2 separate regions of the Homo sapiens genome follow, and region 1 is linked to region 2. Evidence: promoter capture Hi-C in human tissues and cell types (Jung and others, 2019). All regions are on one chromosome and are shown on one strand. The core of a region is centred on a gene start or on the middle of the fragment in contact, and the rest is flanking DNA. Distances in the headings are between cores, read along the strand shown.

Evidence for each region. Contacts are between HindIII fragments. The study calls those that stand out against the background at their distance.
Region 1: a contact is called between a fragment that was not itself captured here and the fragment with the promoter of OCSTAMP in region 2, in 1 of the 25 tissues and cell types used here (dorsolateral prefrontal cortex).

What each region holds. Positions count from the first base shown.
Region 1 is chr20:47,239,348-47,246,705 of GRCh38, forward strand. ZMYND8 (zinc finger MYND-type containing 8) reads right to left here. Exons shown (of 23, transcript NM_001281775.3): 14 at 6,661-7,170. Among named protein-coding and RNA genes, the nearest start is that of MIR3616, 76 kb to the left of the region's middle. The HindIII fragment of the contact is 4,822 bases long and covers 1,574-6,395 here.
Region 2 is chr20:46,548,027-46,555,054 of GRCh38, forward strand. OCSTAMP (osteoclast stimulatory transmembrane protein) reads right to left here and starts at 2,628. Exons shown (of 3, transcript NM_080721.3): 1 at 2,491-2,628. The coding sequence starts at 2,534. RefSeq lists an enhancer at 5,088-5,287. The HindIII fragment of the contact is 9,290 bases long and covers 1-7,028 here.

The sequences.
Region 1 (7,358 bases), core at 2,735-5,234, 690 kb after region 2:
GCCTCCTTTACTGAGCGCCGGCCCACATCTGAGATACAAGTCAAGACCTCTAGGGGAGAATGAGGCAAACAAGACCCGGCTCCTGCGCTCAAGCTCCCCTACACCTAGTGGACAATGCGGTGGGCGAACAGATTCAATGTTCACGCCCTTTTCGCAAAGTTAAAATCTAGTCGGCACCTTGAGAAGGGCCCAGCGGAAGTCAATCCAGACAGGAAGAGCAATTCTTTGGCTAGGGAACGTAGAAAGCAATACCTCCAAAGAGCCAGATGGCCTCCCAATGGCCAAAGCAGTAACACTCAGTCACCCAGAAAGAAAAGTATTCTTTTCATCTCTTCTGATTCCCTCCAGGACAAAGTTTGAAGGCGGTACTGATAGCCAGGACAATACCAGGAAAACAAATTCTGCCCCAAGGCCAGAACCTTCCCCCAACGCAATGGTACTGATCTAGGATTGAGTAGCATTGCTTTGGTTTTGATTGGATTTATTCCTATCACCAGCTTTTATGTATACTGTGTGCTACTGTTCTTATTGGGTGGTGTTCAAGTCTAAAATGAGTTTATACTTGCAGATGCTTTTTTCAGGGGAAATTTTTTTACTAAAAAAATGAGGCCAAGCACGGTGGCTCACGCCTGTAATCCCAGCACTTCGGGAGGCTGAGGCAGGCGGATCACTTGAGGTCAGGATTTTGAGACCAGCCTGACCAACATGGGGAAACCCCGTCTCTATTAAAAATACAAAAAAATTAGCCAGACGTGGTGGGAAACTGAGGCAGGAGAATTCCTTGAACCCAGGAGGCGGAAGTTGCAGTGAGCCGAGATCGCGCCACTGCACTCCGGTCTGTGAGAAAGAGTGAGTGAGACTCCGTCTCAAAAAATATTACTAATAGGCCGGGCGCAGTGGCTCACGCCTGTAATCCCAACACTTTAGGAGGCTGAGGTGGGCGGATCACTTGTGGTCAGGAGTTCAAGAGCAGCCTGGCCAACATAGTGAAACCCCGTCTCTACCGAAAATACAAAAATAGCCGGGTGCGGTGGCAGGCGCCTGTAGTCCCAGCTACTCAAGAGGCTGAGGCAGAAGAATCGCTTGAACCCGGGACGTGGAGGTTGCAGGGAGCCGAGACCATGCCATTGCACTCCAGCCTGGGTGACAGGGTGAGACTCCGTCTCAAAATAATAATAATAATAAATGAAAAGTAAATAAAATGAGTTTATTTTATTTATTTATTGAGATGGATTCTCACTCTGTCACCCAGGGTGGAGTGCAGTGGCACAAACTTGGCTCACTGCAACCTCCGCCCTCTGAGTTCAAGCGATTCTCCTGCCTCAGCCTCCCGACTACGTGGGATTACAGGCGCCTGCCACCGCACCCAGCTAATTTTTTTTATTTTCAGCAGAGACGGGGTTTCGCCATCTTGCCCAGGCTGGTCTTGAACTCCTGACCTCATGATCCATCCGCCTTGGCCTCCTAAAGTGCTGGAATTACAGGCGTGAGCCAACGTGCCCGGCCTATTTTATTTTATGTTTTAAAGAGATAGAGTTTTGCTATATCACCCCGGCTGGGCTCAAGCAAGCCACTTCAGCCTCCCGAATAGCTGGGACTACACGGGACGTGCTACTGTGTCCCGCTTTAAATGAGCTTAATTTTATTTTTAAAGAATGAGATTCTTGGCCGGGTGCAGTGGCTCACGCCTGTAATCCCAGCACTTTGGGAGGCCGAGGCGGGCAGATCACGAAGTCAGGAGTTCGAAACCAGTCTGGCCAACATGGTGAAACCCCATCTCTACTAAAGATACAAAAAATTAGCCGGGCATGGTGGTGTGTGCCTATAATCCCAGCTACTTGGGAGGCTGAGGCAGGAGAATCGCTTGAACCCATGAGGCAGAGGTTGCAGTGAGCCGAAATCGCCCCATTGCACTCCAGCCTGGGTGACAGGGCGAGACTCCGTCTCAAAAAAAAAAAAAAAAAAAAGATTCTTTAAATAAAAAAAGTCAAAAATTATACAAGCAGGACTTGAGAACGGGAAAGACAATGAATGTGAATGACTCAAGTTTGAAAAACGCTGCCATATGGAGTATGTCATCTTGGAGGAGCTGGGCTGGTGGGGAATAAAGGGTAGGATTTCAACAGGCGGAAAGTGAGAATCTGGAGGGAACAGCATCAGCCAAGATATGTCTAGGAATACAGAGCATTTGAGTAAGTGAGGGCAGGCAGGGAGGAGGGGCTGGAAGGGAGGTTAGAGCCAGAAGCACTGAGCAGCACGTAGAGGCGATGACCACACGGGAGCTCATTTGTAAAGGTGGCTCAGTTATGGATGCACAGGCCTCAGCCCCCGGTAAGGTGAGCCTATGCCCCAGAGAGGATATCTGGGGAACACACACCACACCCAGGTACAAGCCAGCACCCCGATCTTGGACTATGCTCCCTGACATCAAACTCCTTTAAATAAGGATTATGTCTGCCTCTTTTTCTTTTCTTTTTTTTTTTTTTTTGAGATGGAGTCTTGCTCTGTCACCCAGGCTGGAGTGCAGTGGCGCGATCTCGGCTCACTGCAAGCTCCGCCTCCTGGGTTCACACCATTCTCCTGCCTTAGCCTCCCGAGTAGCTGGGACTACAGGTGCCCGCCACCATGCCCAGCTCATTTTTTGTATTCTCAGTAGAGGCGGGGTTTCACTGTGTTAGCCAGGATGGTCTCAATCTCCTGACCTTGTGATCCACCCGCCTCGGCCTCCCAAAGTGCTGGGATTACAGGCGTGAGCCGCTGCGCCCGGCCTATGTCTGTCTTTTTAAGATCAGTATTACCCAGAAAAAGACATGAGCCTGATTACTCCAGCAAGGATTTTCATTCAGTAAGCTGTGGGTTTTAAGAAGCCAAGGAGGGAAAGAGACAAGCTGACTATCCCGACTTCAGAGGGCGTTCTCGATGGTTATCGAGATGTTGCTGGCCCTTGTACTTCCCCAGAGAGGAGAATCCAGCCAAGCTGGTCAGCAAGAGCCTGGGGTGGGTCTGGAAGGAGAGCTTCCTGCAGTGAAGAACTCCGATGCTTCCAGGGCCACCTGCCAGATATGGGGCACAGTCCCCGCCTCTTCCAGGTGGAGATGAGGTGTTGAACTGGGCCCTTCTAAGAGGAGGGCAGGGGGCAGTGCCTTAGCAGAGCTTCTAACCCACGTAAGTGCCTTCAATGCCTTCCTTTCCTGCCACATTACCAAAAAATATACTGTTATTGTTGATGAGCTAGCCTGTCTCCCCACCGTAAGGGCAACCGCAAAATGGTCGTTTTCTCTCTCCTGATTTGCAAAAGCAAACAGCCAGCAGGGCGGAGGGGTTACTGCTCTGCAGTGATCACAGCTGGCTCTCTGCCAAATAAAGAACTAGAGTATACAATCCGATAAGATTCCAGGCTCAAAATTGTTTGAAGTTATTTAGATATCAAAATATTTAAATTTCCAGGAATCCTGATGGTTTATGGAGACAAAATGAGGCTACAGGAAATTTCATTTGTCCCAGAAATCTGGAGTACATAATCAATCACCTGTAGCGGGAAAAAAAGGGTGAATTTTTTTTTAAAGGGTCAGCACCTGAGAAGCTGCCCTATCAAATTAACCTACTTAATTCCTGAATTTGTCACTGGTCACTGTTTTTCATTTATAAAGCAAGGACTTTTTAAGAGAAAAATTAGCATCCCCTTTGTAGAAGGATGGAAATTACTGATGTGCCAGTGAAAGCACAGCGAAGAGTCTAAGTGTGCTCTCTTTGCTTCTGTTCTGAGGTTATTAGCTATAAAAGCTGTTTTGCCATCTGAAGATTCATATTCTACCCATAAGCTGCATCCCTAGTGGAAGGTAAGCTGGAGGTCACAACAGCGCAATCCAAAATGCCCTTCACTTACTAAACTCTTAAGTGAAAACACATCATTGAAAAGATGCTCTCTAGCGGAGTCTGACACGAGAATTTTTCAAGACCCAAACCACCATCAGCTCTGAATTTAAGATCAATTGGTTTTGCCCCAAGCCTTAGGAAGCTGCTCTAACTGAACTGTGTTTTAGAATCATCTTCAGCTTAATTGTCCACCATCTACTAAAGCTTCCTGGAGAAATTCCCTTCAGACATCAATGTGAGGAAAAGTTCTACTTCTTTTAATCAACTAGAATGGTTTTTTGTTTTTTTGGAAAGTATGAGATCTTCTAAGGTACTGTGTTTCCCATTCTGCTTTCAGAGCCAACTTCCCTAACTCTGAAGATTGAAATAGTACAGATTTCTGTATAAAACCTTTCCCCAGACCACTTGCTATTCTACCTTCATTTTCCTTTTACATGGATGTCTTTATTTTCATCTTGTTTCATATGGTTATGTATCCTTGTCAATCTGTTGCAAATTCTTTCTGGAAGAGGTAGGGGCACAAAACCAATCAATCAAAAGATCTGTTCCAGAAAGAAAGAACAGTATAAATATGTCACTCATAGGAGCACTGCCATCTGCACCCAAATATTCCTACGATCCTCATGAAATAAATGCTACTCCTATTGTTCTCTGCAACAACAGAGACAGTCTCTCAAAACCCAATCCATAACATACTCATATTTTTCAGAGGCCATCTATAAATCTAACAGATGGGTCGGGATGGTTTGATGGCCTATCCTCCCTCCCTTATGTAACTGTATCTCTCTCTTCCTCCACTGTACCTCTCACAGACATTCTCTTTAGCTGAACTGCAGGAATCCTCTCTCACTCTGACAGCTGAGGTTCCAGAGCAGCCCAGGTTGACCATAACCACAGCAGAAAGATTCTCAAGGCCCATCCCTGACTTGCTTTAAGCCACCAGACAATGGAAACCCCAAAGGACATGGAGTTACATCTTATTCAAGGGTTTCATTGACAAGTTAGCTCCTGATAGAAGTTAGGCACAGTCAAGATTTAAACCTGGCTATCCCTTAAGTCACTCGCCACATACATAAGGTTTTATGGCTACAACCTGTAATTTGTCCTGGGGCAATGTTTCTTCTGGGCCCTTAGTTAATTCTTCAGTATCTTTATTGAGCATGTTGAATCCTCTAACCTAATTGCCAAGCCAACTCAAAAATGTGCTGAATACTTTGTCAGTGGGAAGGACATCCTTCCAATCATTCCCACACCCCTTTTGTTGGGCTTGTTAACATGCCCAGGCTGCACTAGGCTGTGGGGTAGTCACTGCTGGTTCAGAATATAACCGTAGCCTCTGAGACTCAGGGGATATTTGGCAATATTTGATTGCCACATTTGTGACTGCCACAACTGAGCAAGTAAGGTTGCCATCTGGCTGGTAGAGGCCAGGGATGCTGGAAAACATCCTCCAATACACAGGACTAAGAATTAGCCAGGGCAAACTGTCAGAAGTGCAAGGTTGTGAAACTCTGAGCTAAGTTAAATGCAAATAAGATTAAAAGCCAGTAAGGCCAGACGCAGTAGCTCATGCCTGTAATCCCAGCACTTTAGGAGGCCGAGCTGGGTGGCTCACCTGAGGTCAGGAGTTTGAGACCAGCCTGGCCAACATGGTGAAACCCTGTTTCTACTAAAAATACAAAAATTAGCCAGGCGTGGTGGCAGGTGCCTGTAATCCCAGTTACTTGGGAGGCTGAGGGAGGAGAATCACTTGAACCCGGGAGGCGGAGGTTGCAGTCAGCCGAGATTGTACCATTGTACTCCAGCCTGGGCGACAAGAGCCAAATTCTGTCCGCCCCCCCTCCCCAAAAAAGCCAATACACATATCCACCATACTCCATTTTCTAGTGCCCTAAGAAGCACTCAGTATTCTGGCACCAATCACCCAAATACTGTCCTACTACTGTAAGAAAATACACTTGGAGATGCCTAGGTGGCATGAGGGGAGGAAAGCAAAGCTGAAATCATCAAAACCTTTGAAATGAACACTGCTTTTTTTTTAGAGAGGGAGTCTTGCTCTGCCACCCACACTGGAGTGCAGTGGCGCAATCTCAGCTCACTGCAACCTCCGCCTCCTGGGTTCAAGCGATTATCCTGCCTCCGCCTCACGAGTAGCTGGGATTACAGGCGCCTGCTACCACGCCCCGCTAATTTTTGTATTTTAGTAGAGACAGGGTTTCACTATGTAGGTCAAGCTGGTTTTGAACTCCTGACCTCAAATGATCCACCCGCCTCGGCCTCCCCAAGTGCTGGGATTACAGGCGTGAGCCACCATGCCCAGCTTGAAATGAACACTCCTAACCGTTTGAGACTTGTCAAAAGAGAATGAGATGTCTGTGGAATGCAGCACTGAAGGACCATTTGACAAGATCCAAATGTTAACAAACACTTTGGGGAAATAAATGAGCATATTGGAAAAGAAGCTGCTCAGACTAAAAATGACTTGGTCACTAAAAGTAACCATCATTTTCTAACAGACTTCTCTTTCTGTACTCAAAATCAATCATACTGGATACCGAGCAGGTTAAAGGTAGGCAGGCCCATGTTTGAGTCCAGGTCCTGTTCTATGACTAGCTAGGCAACCTTAAACCAAACACAGCTTCACTGTGCCTCTCTCTCAGTGTGTTAGAGGGTCACATAACTTCTGATTTGTTTCTTTAAGGGTCACATAACTTTTGATAGTAAGTGTACGAGGTAGGATTCTAAACCAAATTAAGAAAACTGGAAACAGATACAATCACTTACCATCCTGTTTGGGAGATGGTTCTTTGGGTTCCTTCTTATTTTTTCGACCCTCCCGCCCAGAATGGTCTTCTCCTAAATCTATGACAAGTTCGCTCTCTGAATCAGAGTCCAGGCCCAAATGGACTGTTGGGGAATCCGTCTCATCTTTTCCCTTCAGTTTATCCTTTATGGGGTGAGGTGAAGGTTTTGCCTTTTCGGAAAAGTCCTTCTCAGGCTCAGGGCTGGCCTTGTCCTTGACTGCTCCAGGGTCTGCCTTCTCGCTGGCTGGTGACGTGCTTTTCAGCTCCTCTTTAATCTCCACTGGGTTTGTAGGCTTGGGCTTTTTTTTAACAGCAGATGGCTCTTTGTCCATCTGACAACCTTCTTTGTCCTCTGTGTCTTCTGGCTCGTTCTTAGACTTCTGCTCATCATCACTGATATACTCACTATCGCTACTATCTGACTTCTCAGAATCCTCCGAATCGCTGTGCTCTACGGCCGTATAGACATCTTCCGAGATTTCATTTATGCCTAAATTCAAAAAGAAAACCCAGCATGTGGCGTAGTCACAAAATAAAGAGCAGGATGAAAAATGCAAACATTTTTCCACACCAAATGCTGGAATAAGAAAAGCACGTTTCAAATCGCATCACATTGGCCTAAATGGGGCCAGTAATAATCTCAAGTGGCAACTGGCTACGGCTGCCAAGTGGTACTTG
Region 2 (7,028 bases), core at 1,378-3,877:
AGGAAATAGGTACAGATGATGGCGAATGAACAGGCAGCGTGTATGCACCTGTGAAAAGTATCCTCTGATATACGCAGAGCAGAGTAATGTTAAGGGCATGACCTCTGGACTGCCTGGGCTCAAATTTCTGCTCCACCACTTGCCAGCTATGTGAACTTGGGTACATATCACAACCTTTCTGTGTCTCAGCTGTCTCATCTGTAAAATGGTGCAATAAAAGTATGCACCTCCTGGGGTCACTTTGTTTCTGGCACATGGTAAGTATCACATCAGCTATTACCTACCACTAGAGTCAACTCCACCGGAGCAGGGACTTTGTCCGTTTTGGTCACTGATATGTCCCAAGTGCCTACAATAGTGTCTGCCATGTTGTGAGTGCTCCAAAACTATTCATTAAGAGTAGCATGACCGATTGCTTCTGTTTGCTCAGGTTGGCAGGAAGCAAGGTCAGCAGAGAAGGTAAGATGCTGGCGGAGGTGATGGATGCTTGAAGAGGAAGAAGAAAGTACAAAATGGTTGCCCAGGAAAGTGGGAGAACAAACGAACTGGGGCAATAACATATGTGCTGGGCAACACTGAGGCCCACTTGAGGTTGGAGATCATACATTATCTTAAGTGAGAGCAGGCAGAAAGGTTATACGGGAATATGGTTATAAAGGGCAGGGAGGGTGGTGGGGAGGCTGTCACTGTGTTGGTTACAGGCAAAGCTGCTGACTTGCTCCACCATCAACAGCTTGAAGGATAAGCATGTGACTGGGTCTAGTTGATCCAAGTACCTCTGATCCCCTGGCCACCGTGACTGGTGCAGGGATTGCACCTGACCGGAGATGGACCAATAGAGCTTTCCTCAGGATTTTGCTGCAACGACAAAAAAACTGCCCTTTGTTGCCTTGAGAGCTAAGCTGGTAGGAAGATGCCTCAAGCCTTGGGGACCACCATGTAGTATGAGTCGGCCTGGGATGAAGGCAACACAAGGAAAACAGTGTTAGGAAACAGACAGAGAGTCCCAGTGGCCTTGTTGGAGGACCTGGATCCAGAAATGCCTGAAGCCGAAATCTATGCCGGACCACACACTAGGAGATGTCTGTTTTTCTACAGGCAGTGTAAGATCAATCTGTCACTTGCAACTCAATGAGTCCTGACTAATACAGAAACCTTTGTCACAGGGCTTCTGGGACAATAAAATGAAATAATCCATGTAAAGAAGTTTACACAGGGTCTGGCACAGAAGAGGGATCCTATAAAACTGCACCACTTGTTACTCTGATGATACTTATGTCAACGATGTAAATGTTTCACTCGAGTCTCCTCTGTGCCCAGGCTCTGTGCTGACCCCTGTGGACACAAAGATGAATTAAGTCCTGGTCCCACTAAAGGAGTTCACAGTCTAATTGAGGAGACTTAAATAGACCATTAGAGTTTAAGTTCATTAACAAAGAATTCTGAGCATAGTATGCCTGGGCCTGGACTGGGGTGGGATAGATGGAGAGTGACCCAGTTTTACCTGGGAGTCAGGAAGGCTCCCTGGAAGAGGTGACATTCCAGCTGGGGGTGGAAGGACAAGTGTCAGTTTGTGGGTGAAGAAGGGAGTTGGACATCCCTGACAGAAGGAACAGCGTGTGCAAAGGTCCTGTGCTCTGACCATCGGGAAATAGGGAGTTGGGAGAACCAGAACAGTGGGAAGCTGAGATGCAGTGAGGCCTGTGGGGCTGGAGTGAAGGTCACAACCTTGAAGCCCTAAAGGCTGAATCATATGCAAATGTGCCTTATTGTGGCCCACTCTGTGTGTGTGTGTGTGTGTGTAAGCTGCCCCCATTTGGAAATAAGGAAGTTTCACATTAAAATCTGGGTTTCCAGCTTTTCTTGAGAGATAAGAAGATCTGGGTTAGAGCTCCCACCTTTGCAACAGGTAGCTGGAGCTGAGTATCCACTACCCACCTTTGACAGGGGAGCAGCCCTGCAGACTGCATCCTGCTGATCAATGAACGGGTCCGTCTGCACACCCAGGTGGCCTTCCACAGGTGCAACCCCTTCCCAGCTCCCGAAGGCATTTGAATTTGGGACTAAACACCCCCTTCTACTATATAATTAATATTTGGAACACAGTAGCTTTTGGAATAATAGCTAATAATAAAAACAATTTTAAGGATTGAAAGCCAGTCCTAAGTCATATTGGATGACAATTCCTGCACGGGGTATTGAAAATGGCAAGGAAACTAGCTGCTGTTTAGTGAGTGCTTCCTCTGAGCCAAGCAGGTGCCAAGTACTAAGCATGTGTTTTCTCATTCAATTCTGGCAACAGTCTTGTAGATGTCATTATTACTTCCATTTCACAGATGGGGAACTGAGGCTCACAGAGAACTGAGGATTTGCCTAAGGTCACATAGCCAAGGAATGGCAGAGCTGAAGATTTGGGTTCATATCCATCACCCCCAATGGCTGACTGTTTTCTCACCTGTAGCCCTCAGTGTCCAAAGTCCCCAGACCTACCCGGTCTTGACAAGTTGCTCAGCTGCTCCTGGGTGGCCTGGCATGCTGTCCAAATGGCAGTGGTTTCAGGCGGGCGGTCGCTGGCAGCTGTGGCAGGTGGAGAGGAAGTGGGGGAATCGCTGGGACTTGGGAATCCCTGCCACTTCTGCTTTTCCACTCTTTAATGAAGCTCTCCTGGCTGCCTTGTCCCGCCCTTTTCGGGGCCCACCTCCCAGAGGGTTGGGCAAGCTGCCTCATCCTCTGCCCACAAGCAAGAGCGGGTGGAAGGTGTGGGAAGAGGAAAAGACAGCCTTTTCCAAGCGATGTCTCTAATCTTGGTAGCAGGAAGGTAGAATTAGCCCCATTTTACAGAGAAGGAAACTGAGGCACAGAGAAACCATACAGCTTCCCTTTCCCTCCCACTCCATAGTTGTGTGCCCCAAGGGGAGCCTGATCCCTGCTCTTGGGACTCACAGGTGATAATCAGACCCCTGCCAAGTACTGGGAGCAGTGGCTCTGGTCTCCTTCCCCAGCCCCCTTCCTGTCTTTAGCCTGACTTGTACCTCGCTTCAAATCTCAGCTCTGTCCCTCCCTAGCTATGAGACCTTGGGCAGGTGACCTCATATCTCTCTGCTGGTTTTCTCCCCTTAAAAAAAGTTTAATGAGGCTGGGCACAGTGGCTCACATCTGTAATCCCAGCACTCTGGGAGGCTGAGGGGGGTGGATCACCTGAGGTCAGGAGTTTGAGATCAGCCTGACCAACATGGTGAAACCCTGTCTCTACTAAAAATACAAAAATTATCTGGTTTGTGGTGGTGCATACCTGTAGTTCCAGATACTCGGGAGGCTGAGGCAGGAGAATCACTTGAACCTAGGAGACAAGGTTGCAGTGAGCTGAGATCACGTCACTGCACTCCAGCCTGGGCACAGAGCGAGACTCCGTCTCAAAAAAAAATAGTTAATGAAAATAACAGTTAACATTTATTGAGCACTTACTATGTATCAGGCATTCTTCTAAACAATTTCTCTTCAAATTCACTGAACACTTACTTTGAACATCCCTTTATGGTAAAGATGTTATTTTCATTCTTCAGCTCAGAAAACTGAGACTCAGAGAGCTACGTCGCCAACCACGCCACTCAGCTATTAATGGTACTGCCGTGATTTCTAACCAGCGGGCTGGCTTCAGGGTATACCAGTTAGCCACTGGGCTCTGCTGCTGTGGAGGGGATAATTCACAGACCTCGTGATTACTTCATAGTACAGCTGGTACTGCAAATAGTAGGTACTCAATAATGTAAATTCCCCACGCACACCCTCTGCAGTTAGTGCCCTGCAGGTCTGCTTTCAGGCTGTCCTGAAAGCCAGTTCCTACCTGGAATGCAGACACCTCTCCAGCATCTCTGTACCCCATCACTCCCAGCAGGCCTCCCCTGAGCCCCCCAGGCTCCCCCTCTGTGGGATGGACCAGTAGGGGCACAGCCACTTTCCCTTATAAGGACATGTTGCCTGGGTCACTCTCAGGCCTGAAGGGGAATGTCCTGCGGCCTGGATAGGGGAAGTGACGTTCTTATAGTTACACAGCGATTGAATGGAATACCTGTGGCCAGAACCCTCAGAGGGCCTAACACACTTCCCAGACAGTGCACCCCTGCAGGATGTTAGGCCAGCTACCAGGTCTGCAAAGAACTAAGTACATGAGGCAGACTAGCAGCAGCAAACTTGTGTACCCACAGGGGCCACGCTGCTTAGCTCATGAACAAAGCAGGATGAATGCAAATAGCAGTGAGCTACAAAGTGTAGCCCCCCCCACTCCCTCCTGTCTGGTCAGCTGTTATTCATCTCCAGTTGAGGGTCAAAGCCCCTTGAAAACGAGGCCCACCATGACCAGATTTTCCAGCTTTTCTAAAGACGCCAGTCATTCTCTTTTTAATGTAAATGTCAGCTTTTTTTTTTTTAAATGAAAGACTACCATGCAGACCAATCTTAACAGGTCTATGGGCCAAAGCCAGCATGAGGAGCATCAATTTTCACCTTCCGCAGGAGGCCTTAGTCAGGCCTGCTGTTAGCTGTCTGGCTGCAAGGAGATGTCTAGCTATTCCCCCCAAACTGCAGGGGCCCTGGACTGGAGGCAGCAGACCTGAACTCAAATGCCAGCTTTACCACTTACTGTGCTGTGTGACCTTGGGCAAGACACTGTCCCTCTCTGAAGTTGTGCATCCTCTGCTATAATGAGGGTAATACAGTACCTACTTTAAGGACTGTTTGAGGATTCAATGAGATAATGCATATAGAGTGTTCAGTAAACAATAGGTAAATGCTCATGCCCTGTTTCCTCCTACCTGGGATGACAGTTCTGCCAAGTGAGCCCCTGTCTGCTCACATCTGATTGTTGAGACTTCTGATGCTCACCAGGCCACCCTGGCCTGGATCCCATCACATAGCAAACTTCAGGGCATTGTGCTGGTCAGACAGAAAGAGTCCTAGAAGCCAGCCACCAGCATTTGCCCAGTTTCTGCACAGGCACTAGGGAGCTGGTTGGATAAGGACCAGGCAGTTTGTTTCCGGAAGGCCTCTGGTGGATATGTAAGATTTGGGAGCATGGGGGCATAGGGAGTGAACAGGCAAAATATATTTTTGGCTTTTCTCGGTACATGTAGGCAGTTACCTCTGTCTATATAAGGCTGGCCTGACCTCAAGGCCCACAACATCCGGAAGGGGCTTCTGAATCATCAAAAATAGAATCAGCTTTGTTGAGGGGAATTTGTGGGTGGAGGATTCAGAGCCATAAGACAGAAGAGGAAGAGGAAGAGGTAAGCCTTCAGATCTTCCTGGAGAGCCTGGTCTGGGATCAGAATCAGAGACCCATAGAGTATTATTTTCAGTAGAGATGGACTTTTGCCTTGTTGCCCAGGATGGTCTCAAACTCCTAGGCTCAAGTAATCTGCCCACCTCAGCCTCCCAAAGCGCTGGGATTACAGGCGTGAGCTACTGTGCCCAGCTGCACAGAATAATTAGAGTCACTGAATTCTTTAGCCTTCTTCAACGTTGCCACTGTCCAGATAGTTTGAGAATACAGAGAAGCAGCCAAAATCTTCCTATATTGCTGGTGCTATCCAATAGCAACAGTATGTGAGCCACCAACTCGAACCGTATGCATAATTTAAACTTTTCTGGTAACCCTACTCAAAGTCCACTGATTCAAATGTTAGTCTCATCTAAAAACACCCTCACAGAAATATCCAGAATAATGCTTGACCAAATATCTGGGCACTATGGCCCAGTCAAGTTGATATATAACATTTTTTAAATTTAAAAAATCGAATTTTTAAAAACAGAAATCAATTTTAATAAAATATTTTAGTCAATGTAACATATCACAAATATCCTTTTAACATGTAAATAATATAAAAAATTGACAGGATGTTTTACATTTATTTTCTCATATTACAATTTTCTACTTATAACAAATCTCAATTTGAACTAGCCACATTACAAATGTTCAGTAGCCACACATAGCAAGTGGCTACTGTGTCACACAGGGCAGCTATAGACCATTTCCATCATTACAGAAAGGTCAGTGGGTAGTGCTGCTCTAGGCCATTAGAACCCGTGACCGCTAATGCTGAAATGGACCTCCCAGATCATGCAATTCAAGGGTCATAGATTCAAATGCTTTCACAAGCCAGGAAAGTGACAGAGTTGACAGAGGAGAGCCAGTGTAAGTCATTAAAGAGTGGTGGGGACTGAGGCTAATTAATGTTTACGTTCCAACTTATGATTTCCTCCACATACTACTCAGCTCCAAACAATTGTTGCCAGATGCCAAAGAGGGTCTCATATTGCTAGATCTGGTATTTTCCTTTCCAAGAGAAGCAGAAATCCAGATTTTTATGTGAAATCTCCTGAATTTTAATGACTAGCAAATAATAATTTAAAATTCATCAGGGGTCTGGCACAGTGGCTCACGCTTGTAATATCAGCACTTTGGGAGGCCGAGGCAGGTGGATCACTTGAGGCTCAGGAGTCTAAGATCAGCCTGGGCAAATGGAAAAACCCCGACTCTACTAAAAATAGAAAAATTAGGTGGGCATGATAGTGATGTTGTGCACTTCCAGCTACTCCAGAGGCTGAGGTGGGAGGATCACCTGAGCCTGGGACATGGAGGTTGCAGTGAGCTGAGATCACACCAGGCCAGTGCACTCCAGCCTGGGCCACAAAGCGAGACCCTGTCTCAAAAAAACTAAACTTAAAAAACCAAACTCATTGGGGAGAGGACAAACAAAACCTGGCTGAGGGCTGGCACCAGATTGCAAGCTCTGATGTGTCAACCCTTTGTGCCTTACTCTTCTCAAAGCTTGTTTCTCCAGACCCCTCCCCATGCTCCTCCTCCCTGCCCTGCACCCGGGAGGTGGACCTGGACAGGCTGCATCAAAGCCCTCCTTGCATTCTGGCTGGTGTTGGTGCAACACATAAAATTTCATGTGTCAACTTGGCTGAGCCATGGTGCCCAGGGATTTAGCTATGCATCACTCTTGATGTTTCCGTGAGTATGTTTT